2 separate regions of the Homo sapiens genome follow, and region 2 is linked to region 1. The links are contacts of gene promoters, found by promoter capture Hi-C in blood cells and fetal thymus (Javierre and others, 2016). All regions are on one chromosome and are shown on one strand. Each heading gives the region's core, a stretch centred on a gene start or on the middle of the fragment in contact. The rest is flanking DNA. Distances are from core to core; before and after follow the strand shown.

Region 1 (5,425 bases), core at 1,260-3,759:
CCTTTCAGAGCTTTGGCAGAGTACGTCAGCTGCCTCAAGCCCTGGGATCTTAGCTTCATTCAGGTTCACTGAATCTAATTAAAGGCTGATTAGCTGTTTCAAGGTTTTCTGTGACTGAGTAATCCTCCACACTTCCTGTCAGGACTTGCAAGCCTCGCTGTGCCCAGTGAAGACTCCTTAGCCCTCATGGAATCCCGACTGTGGGCAAGTCTTTTTAGGAACAACCTCCTCAGCCCTGCAGTTAGGTGGGCCACCGCGCGGGAATGACGGGCAAGGCCACAGCGAGAGAAGGCTCACCAAGCAGTTCTGGTTGAGATGAGGCTGCGCCAGGAATTTCTTCCCAGGCTGACTTCTGAGGAAATACCTCGTCTTAAGGAAGAGATGAAATATTCACCTCTCTCACATTTAACTTTAGTTCAACCGAAGGCATTAACATGTATACTTGCAACAAATGAATTCTGATAGGTCAATTTTACCTAATGGAATCTGTTGGTTTTTAAGGTTCTGTGACTGAAGAAATAGAGACTAAAGAAAAATTACAGGCGTATATAGACTAAAGAAAAGAACCAGAGAATGAGGAGGAGGGATCTGGAAAGATAGTTACCAAAAAATTTGAGGCTTTCAAGGATTTTTACTTTCTTTTTCCTTTGAATTTTTATATTGTCCGATTTTGGGTAAAAGAGCATATACTACTCTCCAGGAAAAGCAATAAAGCTATTTTCCTTTTAATAAAAAAGATATCAACACTTTAAGGAGAGCTATACTGAAAGACTGCTTCTGATTAACTGATAGACTGATCTTTTAGTTGCATGGGAAAATTATTTTTCTTGAAAATATATCCTGCCTGACAGCTTCTAACTCTACACCTAATCTTAAGAGGTAAATAGTTAACTCATTGAGATGAAAGCAGATACCCCAAGACATGCCATCAGTTTACAGGAAAACAGCCTACGATAACCTATTCATGATTATTTAAAGGGAAATTTTTGAAATTTGAACCATGTAACTTTGATTCTCGTCATAAAACTGGAGACACATATAACAGGAAAACCCCTCAAGATATAATCAAATCACTCAAGAATGCAACAAGCTTTTAAAATTTACATATCTCAAAAGGCAAAAAAGACAATATGAAATTCCAATGTTTGAAATAAGTTTAAAAATTATATAAATTTTAATGCCTAGAGTTTATGCTTTGCACAATAATTTAAGAGTCTAAAGGGAAAATAGTATTGGTCTAATAAAACAGATCACAAACCCGTCAATTGAACAAACTGAAAGTCCCTTGATTTCACTCACACACTTTGCTGAAGTATCCACCTAAAAACCAAATACTGCTCTTTGGTCTCCTACCACCTGGTACTTTGTGGCAGCTGTTGGCTTGTAAAAAATAAATAAAACAAGTTAGTTTAGCAAATATTGACTGCAAGCTTCTTCTATACTTCATCCTAAAATGGAAAAGACATGTTCCTGCCCTCTTGGAGTTTGCTTTCTAGTACATCAGAAGTGAGCAGATGAACCTGACCTATAGGGAACAAAATTAAAAACAGTGGCATCGATGGAAAAATAGAGCAATAAATTAAAACACAAATAACAGGTAAGAAGCATTGAAAAATACCCTTGAAAAAGCTTAAAGGCCTGTAAGAGTGGTATTTGGTGAAAGTTTGTTGAATCTATTTCCTGATTTGTAAATGTTGTGTAAAAATGAGCATCTCATTTTGGCTCAGTTCACAATCATTTTTCTTCCCTAAGGGTATTTTCCATGAGCTTCTAGAAATCCTAAATGTTTTTTCAAGCAACCAATAAACTTACCCATTGAAACTGCACAGATTTGAAATGGAGATATTAATCCACTGACAAGTGAATAAAATGTAAGATTGCTGTAGGTTCATTTCTATACTATAAACCTTCCTCGTAGGAGAATGAAATTTCAAACCACATGGATTCCAAAACCACTTAAACTTGCCATTCCCACAATGGTTAGTTGTACTTGCCGAATCACAAGGTAAACAGAAATCTATGAGCCATTTAAGATGATCTTGAGCCAGGTAGGACTGGTCAGAGCCTTGGGAACCCATCTGAAACTATTCCACCTGGTCCGCCTGAAAGTAGATTGGGATGGAGTCAGGGGTCTCACATTCCTGAGAAACAAGCCCATCTAATTCCGCACATTTTATAGCTGGTAAGTATCAAGCTGTCTGAAAATGACCGCTAAAACATGAACCAGAAAAACATAAATAAATCAGGGAACAAAATGTCTGTGCATTATTCCTGGCTATTAAAATTGGTTTTAGAGAAAACAAGAAAAATATTTGCTGTAAAACTGAGCTCTATTTCCCTGTTTATGTGTGTGTGTGGGTGTGTGTGTGTGTATAAGTTAAAACTTAAGTGACTTCACAAATCACCTTTTTGACAGGCATTGGAATACCTCTTGTCTTTTTTTTTCCCTACTTTTAGGTGCCTCGGGGAGAATGTTTTCTACATAAACTGGCTCTAACTTTCAGGTGTGTCTTCACATGCCCCGTTTGCTGCCTGAACCTCTCCACAAAGACTCCCAGATCCTGGTAAGTCTTGCCTGCTCTCTCACTAGCAAATTGGCATTTTTATGGATTAAATGAAGGTATTAGAATTTAGGGGGTAAGTGGAGTTGTCATAAAGTAAGAAATGGGACATATTAGCACATAGATTACTATTACTTTTACAGAATGATAGTCCAATGACACTTAAATAAAGGTTCTTGCAACATAAAACAGTATCCAATGGGAAAATTGATGTTAGTGCATTGTGATATGAAGCCAACAACTTGAGCCTTACTGTACCTTGAAGGGAGCTTCAAATGATGTAGTGTTGAAATGTACAACTGTATTGTGTTTTCAGCAAATGTTTGTTTTTGTTATGGTTATAAAACTTATGACAACTTATAAAAGTTTAAATGCATTAGAACTACCCATATTTTCAAAATATTTTGTTAATGTTCTAGATATGTGTAAATATTGTTTTAAGAAAAGCAAGTCTGCTATAACTAAAAGAAACATAAACTTGGCCGGGCATGGTGGCTCATGCCTGTAATCCCAGCCCTCTGGGAGGCCGAGGCAGGCAAATTGCTTGAGCTCAGGAGGTCAAGACCAGCCTGAGCAACATGGCGAAACCCCATCTCTGTAAAAACTATACAGCCGTAGTGGCACATGCCTGTAATCCCAGCTACTCAGGAGGTTGAGATGGAAGGACTGCTTAAGCATGGGAGGTTGAGGTTGCAGTGAACCAAGAATGTGCCACTGTACTACAGCCTGGGTGACAGAGGAAGACTCTGTCTCCAAAAAAAAAAAAAAAGTAAACTTTATAGTTCTGTATTCTGCATTCCTCACTATGATGAAATTTAGGCAAAACAGTTGAAATATCTAATGAGTCCTGACATAACATGAAAAAAAGTTAGACAAAGGAAAGTTAAATACAAGATTTCTGAGAACTGTCACTTTATAGACAATTATTTGTGTACCAGAAAAAGTCTTAAGGGCTAATATAAATGTATTTATAATTATCTTCTGTGTTATAAATTACTGTCCAATTTGCAGAAGAAAGGTGCTGTAGTAGAAACAGGAGCGGAATGCATGTCTTTCCTGCGGAGAGGCTCTTATCAAACACGATGCACCTGTGGTTCTAGGAGCTGGGCAAATGGGCACCACATGGCCCTTTTCTCTTCATCTGTTTCATCCAAATTGTTTTGACAAAAAAGAGTAAACTCTTTGCAGCCTTCAAGTGAGAGCAGATGAGGCAAATATAAGTGAATGGTCAGTAAATTAAATAAATTAGCAATGCCAGAAAGTTACTTTCAGTCTAATATATTTCACTGTTTATTGCAACACTTAATACATTTTAAGACCAGTGTCATCTAGCAGCATTCATTAAACGGCTACCAAAATGCACCCAGCGCCTTTGGAAATACGTTTATACATATCTCATCCAAAGGAGGGAAAATGTTTTGTTTATTACTCCTAATCACTTTTACATATATTACTAAAACTCACTGATGAATTTAACAAGAAAAGAGTGCCATGTAGCCCCTGAGAGGCTTTCCAATGTCAGCTCTGGTAAACCAACCCGAAAAGCAGTACCAATTAAACTTATAGTTTGACGAAGGAAGGCATGCACAGGGTTACCACATTTTCTGATATTGCGCTGTATGTGCAGCTGTGGGTTTTATAATGACTGGATAGGTGATTTCAGATAACAGAACTTCTAGAAGTTGCCAGATTCATTATAATACTTATCTAGTTTGGAGCTTAGCTCTCCTAAAATGGGAAATAGAAAATGGGGAGGAAGACTAGAGGTGAGTGATTTTGGGAAATAAGGGCTGAGATGATAAGGCCCATAGCTAAGGGCACTGAAGCCACTGAGAAAGTTTCTCAAGCTCAGCGCTGTTGATATTTTAGGATGCTTAATTCTATGTTGTAGGGCCCAGAAATATTGTAGAATATTTACTTAGCAGCACCCCTGGCCTCTACACACTCAATGCCAGTAGCGTCTGTCATGCCAGAACCCTATTGACTTCAGTAGGGATGGCACCATGTTTGAGAGGCCAAAGAAGGGACTTGGAGTCAGCGAACAAGACATAGGGTTTATTGAAGGGGACTTATACACAGGGCAGACCCATGGCTGTATGTAAGGCTGCACTGGAGAACCGCTCCTGCTTGTAAAAGTCATGCAGTTCATACAGCATTTTCACTGAGCACCCTCCCTCTAACAACCTCCACCTGGCAACCTTTGTTTACAACAAAACAAAGGACCTCGATCCCCTGTATCGACCGTGTTCCATAGAATGGGCCAGGGGTTCAGATGTTCCTGATAGATAAGGAATGAATCTTCAGGTTGGCTACTCCCGGATTCCTTAGCTTGGAACTCTAAACACACATTCCTTTTAGACCACAGGTCTTTCTCAGGGTCTGCTTAAGTTATTGCTTTCAGGTGTGTCTGCCATACAGCATCTTCCTCTCATTATGACAGCCAAAAATGTCTGCAAACATTGCCAAATGTCCTGTACTCACCCCAACACGACAGCCTGCAGAGTCTTACTACTGAGGAGCCATCAGTCTTTGGAGTGCAAAGACTTGGGAGTTGCTTAGGGCAGTGGTTCTCAAACTTGAGCGTTCATCAGACTCACCTGGAGGGCACGTGGCAGCATGCTGGGCCCCATCCCAGAGTCTGTGAATCAGTAGGTCCCTGGCTGGGCCCTGATCATTGGCATTTCCACATGATGTTGATGCTGCTCATCTGGTAGGGTGACCAACCATGTAAGTTTGCCTGGTTCTGAGAGAGATTGCCGAACCTGGGGATTTGCAATGAGAATATCAGAAAAGTCCCAGGCAAACTAGGATGAATTGGTTATCTTATTAAGTCCATGGACTACGCTTGGAGAACCACTGTTTAA
Region 2 (5,425 bases), core at 2,438-4,937, 210 kb after region 1:
AACTCAAGATGGATTGAAGACTTAAACGTAAGACCTAAAACCATAAAAACCCTAGGCAATTACCATTCAGGACATAGGCATGGGCAAAGACTTCATGACTGAAACACCAAAAGCAATGGCAACAAAAGCCAAAATTGACAAACGGGATCTAATTAAAGAGCTTCTGCACAGCAAAAGAAACTATCATCAGAGTGAACAGGCAACCTAGAGAATGGGAGAAAATTTTTGCAAAGAACTTCAAACCCATCAAAAAGTTGGTGAAGGATATGAACAGACACTTCTCAAAAGAAGACATGCATGCAGCCAACAAACATGAAAAAAAGCTCATCATCACTGTTCAATAGAGAAATGCAAATCAAAACCACAATGAGATACCATCTCATGCCAGTTAGAATGACAATCATTAAAAAGTCAGCAAACAACAGATGCTGGAGAGGCTGTGGAGAAATAGGAACACTTTTACACTGTTAGTGGGAGTGTAAATTAGTTCAACCATTGTGGAAGACAGTGTGGCAATTCCTCAAGGATCTAGAACTAGAAATACCATTTGACCCAGCAATGCTATTACTGGGTATATACCCGAAGGATTATAAATCATTCTACTATAAAGACACATGCACATGTATGTTTATTGAGGCACTGTTCACAATAGCAAAGACTTGGAACCAACCCAAATGCCCATCTATGACAGAATGGATAAAGAAAATGTGGCACATATACACCATGGAATACTATGCAGCCATAATAAAGGATGAGTTCACATCCTTTGCAGGGACATGGATGAAGCTGGAAACCATCGTTCTCAGCAAACTAACACAAAAATAGAAAACCAAACACCACATGTTCTCACTTGTAAGTGGGAGGTGAACAATGAAAACACATGGACAAGGGGATGGGGGTGGGGGAGGGATAGCATTAAGAGAAATACCTAATGTAGATGATGGGTTGATGGGTGCAGCAAACCACCATGGCACATGTATACCTATGTAACAAACCTGCATGTTCTGCACATGTACCCCAGAACTTAATTAAAAAAAAAAATCCCAATAACTAGCAAAAATGGTCATACCCCATCATCTACTAGAGCAATTATGTAGTATTTTACTTAGAACAGTAGAAACACTCTCCATTCCTTTTCAGCTAAACAACTAAAGATCTCACTTTGAAATTACTTTTTTTTTTTTTTTGAGACGGAGTTTCGCTCTGTCGCCAGGCTAGAATGCAGTGGCATGATCTCAGCTCACCGCCTCCTGGGTTCAAGTGATTCTGCCTCAGCCTCCTGAGTAGTTGGGATTACAGGGGCCTGCCACCACACCTGGCTAATTTTTATATTTTTAGTAGAGATGGGGTTTTACCACATTGGTCAGGTTGGTCTCAAACTCCTGACCGCAGGTGATCTGCCCGCCCCGGCCTCCCAAAGTGCTGGGATTACAGGAGTGAGCCACCGCTCCCAGCCAGTTGAAATTACTAATTTTAATCAGTTCAATGAAGTGGACAATTAATTTCACTCTTCACAAGCCACAAAAATATTGACAGCTTAGTAGATAACAGTAAGTGAACACTTAAAACTTGTTTTATTCCTAGGACTTTATTCCCCATACAGATAAATTTGCATTCTCATACTGAATGTAAACACTTAAAGATGGATTTAACTCTACAGCTAGAATTCCATATTAAATTATATTTCACTATTCCCTAACTAAAAACTTTTTTTTCCCTGAGTAAGGGATATGTTGAGATTTACATAAACAGCACTTCACATGATACCGGGATTTCAAATTTTTAAAAAGATGCAGAGTTCACTTCCAATAATGGCAAAGTAGCACACAGATATCAGACCAACCCTCCTGCTGATAGCAACTGCAAACTCTGAACAAATATATTTTAGAAAAAACTAAAGGCACTGGAAACAACTATAAACAAGTGGAAAGTAGAGGGAAGTTGGCACTTAAAAAGTGAACAGCACTGGCTCAATGTCTCATTTTTAACGGGTTCTCACTTGAGGGGGAAACAAAAGCCAAGTTTTATTGGTTAAGGATCAGAAGGCAGAATATGGGGCAACCACAACAGCTGGAACATAAAGGGGAAACCCCCAAAAAACAGGAGGCACAGAAGGGGCAGACTTCCTTCTGCCCAAACTCTGGTTGACCCCTGAACTACACACTTGCATGGGAAAGACTTCCAGCAGCATAGCTAAAGCTAAAACAACTGAGAAGAGATTTCAGCTGCTGCCACCTACAAACAAGACAGAGTGTGGAGTTGGTGTTCAGCCAAGTTAACTGCCTCCTAAGACAACAATCAATTTTCTTTAGAAGTATGTAACAGAATCCAGGGTCATTATGTCACTCATGAGCATGAGACAATCTATGCTATCTATACCAAATTTCAGAACTACTTAATCTGAATTATTCTTAAATTTAGTTACAATATGCAAAAGCCTACTTAGCATTTAGTACTTTGTTACTTAAGTTTCCTCAGGACATGGCCATTTTAAACACCACACATCCAATTTTACAACACTCTTTAAATAAACAGTCATTAACCCAGCCAAGGAAAACACAGATTAAAGACTCCCTTATGTTGTACTTCTCCAAAAGTATATATTAAACATTTAGTAGGTGTATCTAAAATAGATGAAAGGATGATGACCTTTAAAATGCCTTAATATTGTCCTATAACATGAAAATAAAGATACATTCAGGCCTAGAAAAGAAATTAGAATATACACTAGAAGTAGTCATAAAAAAAACTATGACCATCTCAACACGTACTCATGATAACCAGTAAATGAATATTTAAGACGTTTATTTCAGTATCTTCATTCCCCACTGTAATACATTTGAATGCCCACGTATTTGAGTTCCGTAAATAGACTCTCTTAATTTGGGTAACTATATAATTACCCTTCAGAGTTGCAGACAACAATGGAAGCTTTAAAACCTCTTCAACACAAATGCTACCCCTAAAATGAAAGAATTTAGAGGTTAAATAAAACAAGTGAGAGACCGTTTACTTACATCAGTTCGGTTTATAGACATTTGAATCATATCTGAATGACTGACTTGTTTCCAATGTGAAAACCAAATTAAAAATAACTTGATCACTGTGCTTCAAACACAACTGTTCACATATCAAATTCTAGCTCCAGCCATGTAAAATTCAACTTTTCTGTATCAGAGAAAAAAGCTATTTAAATTCAGGGGCATTGAATCTTTCATGAACAGCATGAAAATATGAGTTGACGGAGATATTCCAGGATGCTACAATAAGTAGCTTTTTGTCTTACACATTAGTGCACTGAAACAAAATACTAAATTTATGTAAAATATAGATATAAGAGTATTCCATTTTGTCCAAACCTATTAAATACCTTCCAAAAGTTTCATAATTCAGTCCTAGAAATTCTTGGAGCTGTGAGAATATCCTGTTCAGGAATGTGACTTCTACAAAAGCTCCCAGGAAATTTCAGAAAAAAATATATATAATCTTCTAATTCAAAAGTTGATTGATTTGCCAAATGACGCAGCAAGATTTGCTTCTCTAAAAGCTTCTGATAAGGTCTGCAAGGGAAGAAATTTAAAATTAAAATCCAAATATTTGTGGGTCAGAAGAAAATTTAGGCAACCATCAATTCTATATGTTGTTAATAATTACCGGATGTGCATGACAGACTCTAGCTATATCTTCACAGGATGCTCCATATTCCAAAGCAAGAGCAGCTTCATTTACCATTTCTCCAGCACCCTTTAAAATAACAAGCCAAGTAAATTTGCTTCCAAGGCAAAAACTACATGCTAATAGGATAGCAATTGTTGAGGGGAAGCTTTTAGATCTTAAAAACGCCTTAAATCTGTTTCTTTATCAGTTGAAGAAAAGTCAGGAAAAGCTTAATAGAAAAGGTGACACAGAAGAGCTTGGGCTCTGGAGCCAAAGGGCCTTCAATTCATATCTACCACTTACTACCTTAACCATTCATTGGTTCTTTGTGCTTCATTCAGTTTCTTCACCTCAAAAATAACAGCACCTATTTCAAAAAGCTGATGTAAAAATAACAAAATGTATACTAAAGTGACACAGCACTCAAATATTCTATTCTCATTATTGTTACATCAGATACAAGAGATATCTACAAGAAAGATACATACTTTAGGCTCAGTGGTAGGAAAGGCTTCCCTTAGGAGGTAACATTTGAGCTGAGACCTGAATAATAAGGAGCCAGCCATTCAAAGATCTGGAGGCAGAACAGTCTAAGCAGAGGGTATCTTAAGCACAAAGGCCCTAAAATGCAAATATTTGGTCTGTTGTGAAAATGAGAGAAGGCCCATGTGACATGGCATTAATGAGTAAAAGAGAGCAGAAAAAGAAGAGGTCAGAGAAGTAGGCACAAACAGATTCAGTGAGGCCTTGGATGTAACAATCTGAAGTTGAAAAGCACCACTGGAGGATTTTAAGGGGCATAATCTGGTGTATGTTTTAAAGAGAGAATCTTGGCTGCAGGACAAAGTAGATGATACAGTGGGCAAGACTGTGAGAGTGCTGCTGGTATCCTTCTAGAAATGATGCACAGAGAGCCATATTCAAAGTTTTGCTGGAAATGAGCAACCTCAGACTAACACCAGGTGGTTTATAATTAATAAACAGCAATGCTTTCTAGAAATCTTAATGGGATTTCTCTGGTTTTACAATACTCACTGGTCCAAGAATATGTGCTCCCAGTACTCTGTCTGTCGATTTCTGCCCAAGGATCTTCACCATGCCATCTGTGTCAGCATTTGTCTTAGCTCTGCTGTTAGCAGCAAATGGGAATTTCCCAACTTTGTACTCAATACCCTGTGACAGTCAGAAAAAAAGAATCTACGTAACTGCCAGAAAAGTTCTTTCCAATTTGTAAAATCATCTACCATTTGTTCAGAAAATAAATCCCAAGAAGGGAATTGTTCGCAAAGCACATAGAAGGAAAGGAAAGACCAGAAGACTGGTTAATGAACTATATCTCAGGCACGAATACAAGCAAATACAAATGTCTGTCCATCTGGTTATATTTCAAAGCCAAATATAAAAGATCTGGAATTACTAGTTTTTTAATATAGGCAACTTCTCTTCCTCTCAATTACTGCTGATAAATCTGTGAATGATCTCTTTATAATGCTAACAAGGGAAAAATATATAAGCTAAACAATATTTCACAGCTGTTAAATATATTAGCATAATGATAAAATGCTGTTTCTCAACCACCAATGTCATTGGCACAACTCACACATTGGCTTAAAACCACCCATGTTCAGACTTACCTCTTCTTTCAACTGCTCTTCTGATTTGCCAACCCAAGCAACTTCAGGGTGTGTGTAAATCACTGATGGCACACAATTGTAGTCAATGTGCACAGCACCACCAGCCATTCCTTCAACACAGATAATGCCTTCAT

What was found. Contacts are between HindIII fragments. The CHiCAGO score rates a contact against its expected background, and 5 or more counts as called.
Region 2: a fragment that was not itself captured here is called in contact with the fragment with the promoter of LAMB4 in region 1 in 1 of 17 cell types (endothelial precursors); the score reaches 5.9 in endothelial precursors.

The regions. Positions count from the first base shown.
Region 1 is chr7:108,127,445-108,132,869 of GRCh38, reverse strand. LAMB4 (laminin subunit beta 4) reads left to right here and starts at 2,509. Exons shown (of 34, transcript NM_007356.3): 1 at 2,509-2,564. The HindIII fragment of the contact is 5,422 bases long and covers 1,632-5,425 here.
Region 2 is chr7:107,917,329-107,922,753 of GRCh38, reverse strand. DLD (dihydrolipoamide dehydrogenase) reads right to left here. Exons shown (of 14, transcript NM_000108.5): 11 at 5,292-5,425; 12 at 4,693-4,830; 13 at 3,655-3,744; 14 at 1,556-3,560. The coding sequence ends at 3,495. Among named protein-coding and RNA genes, the nearest start is that of DLD, 29 kb to the right of the region's middle. RefSeq lists an enhancer at 4,302-4,701. The HindIII fragment of the contact is 276 bases long and covers 3,550-3,825 here.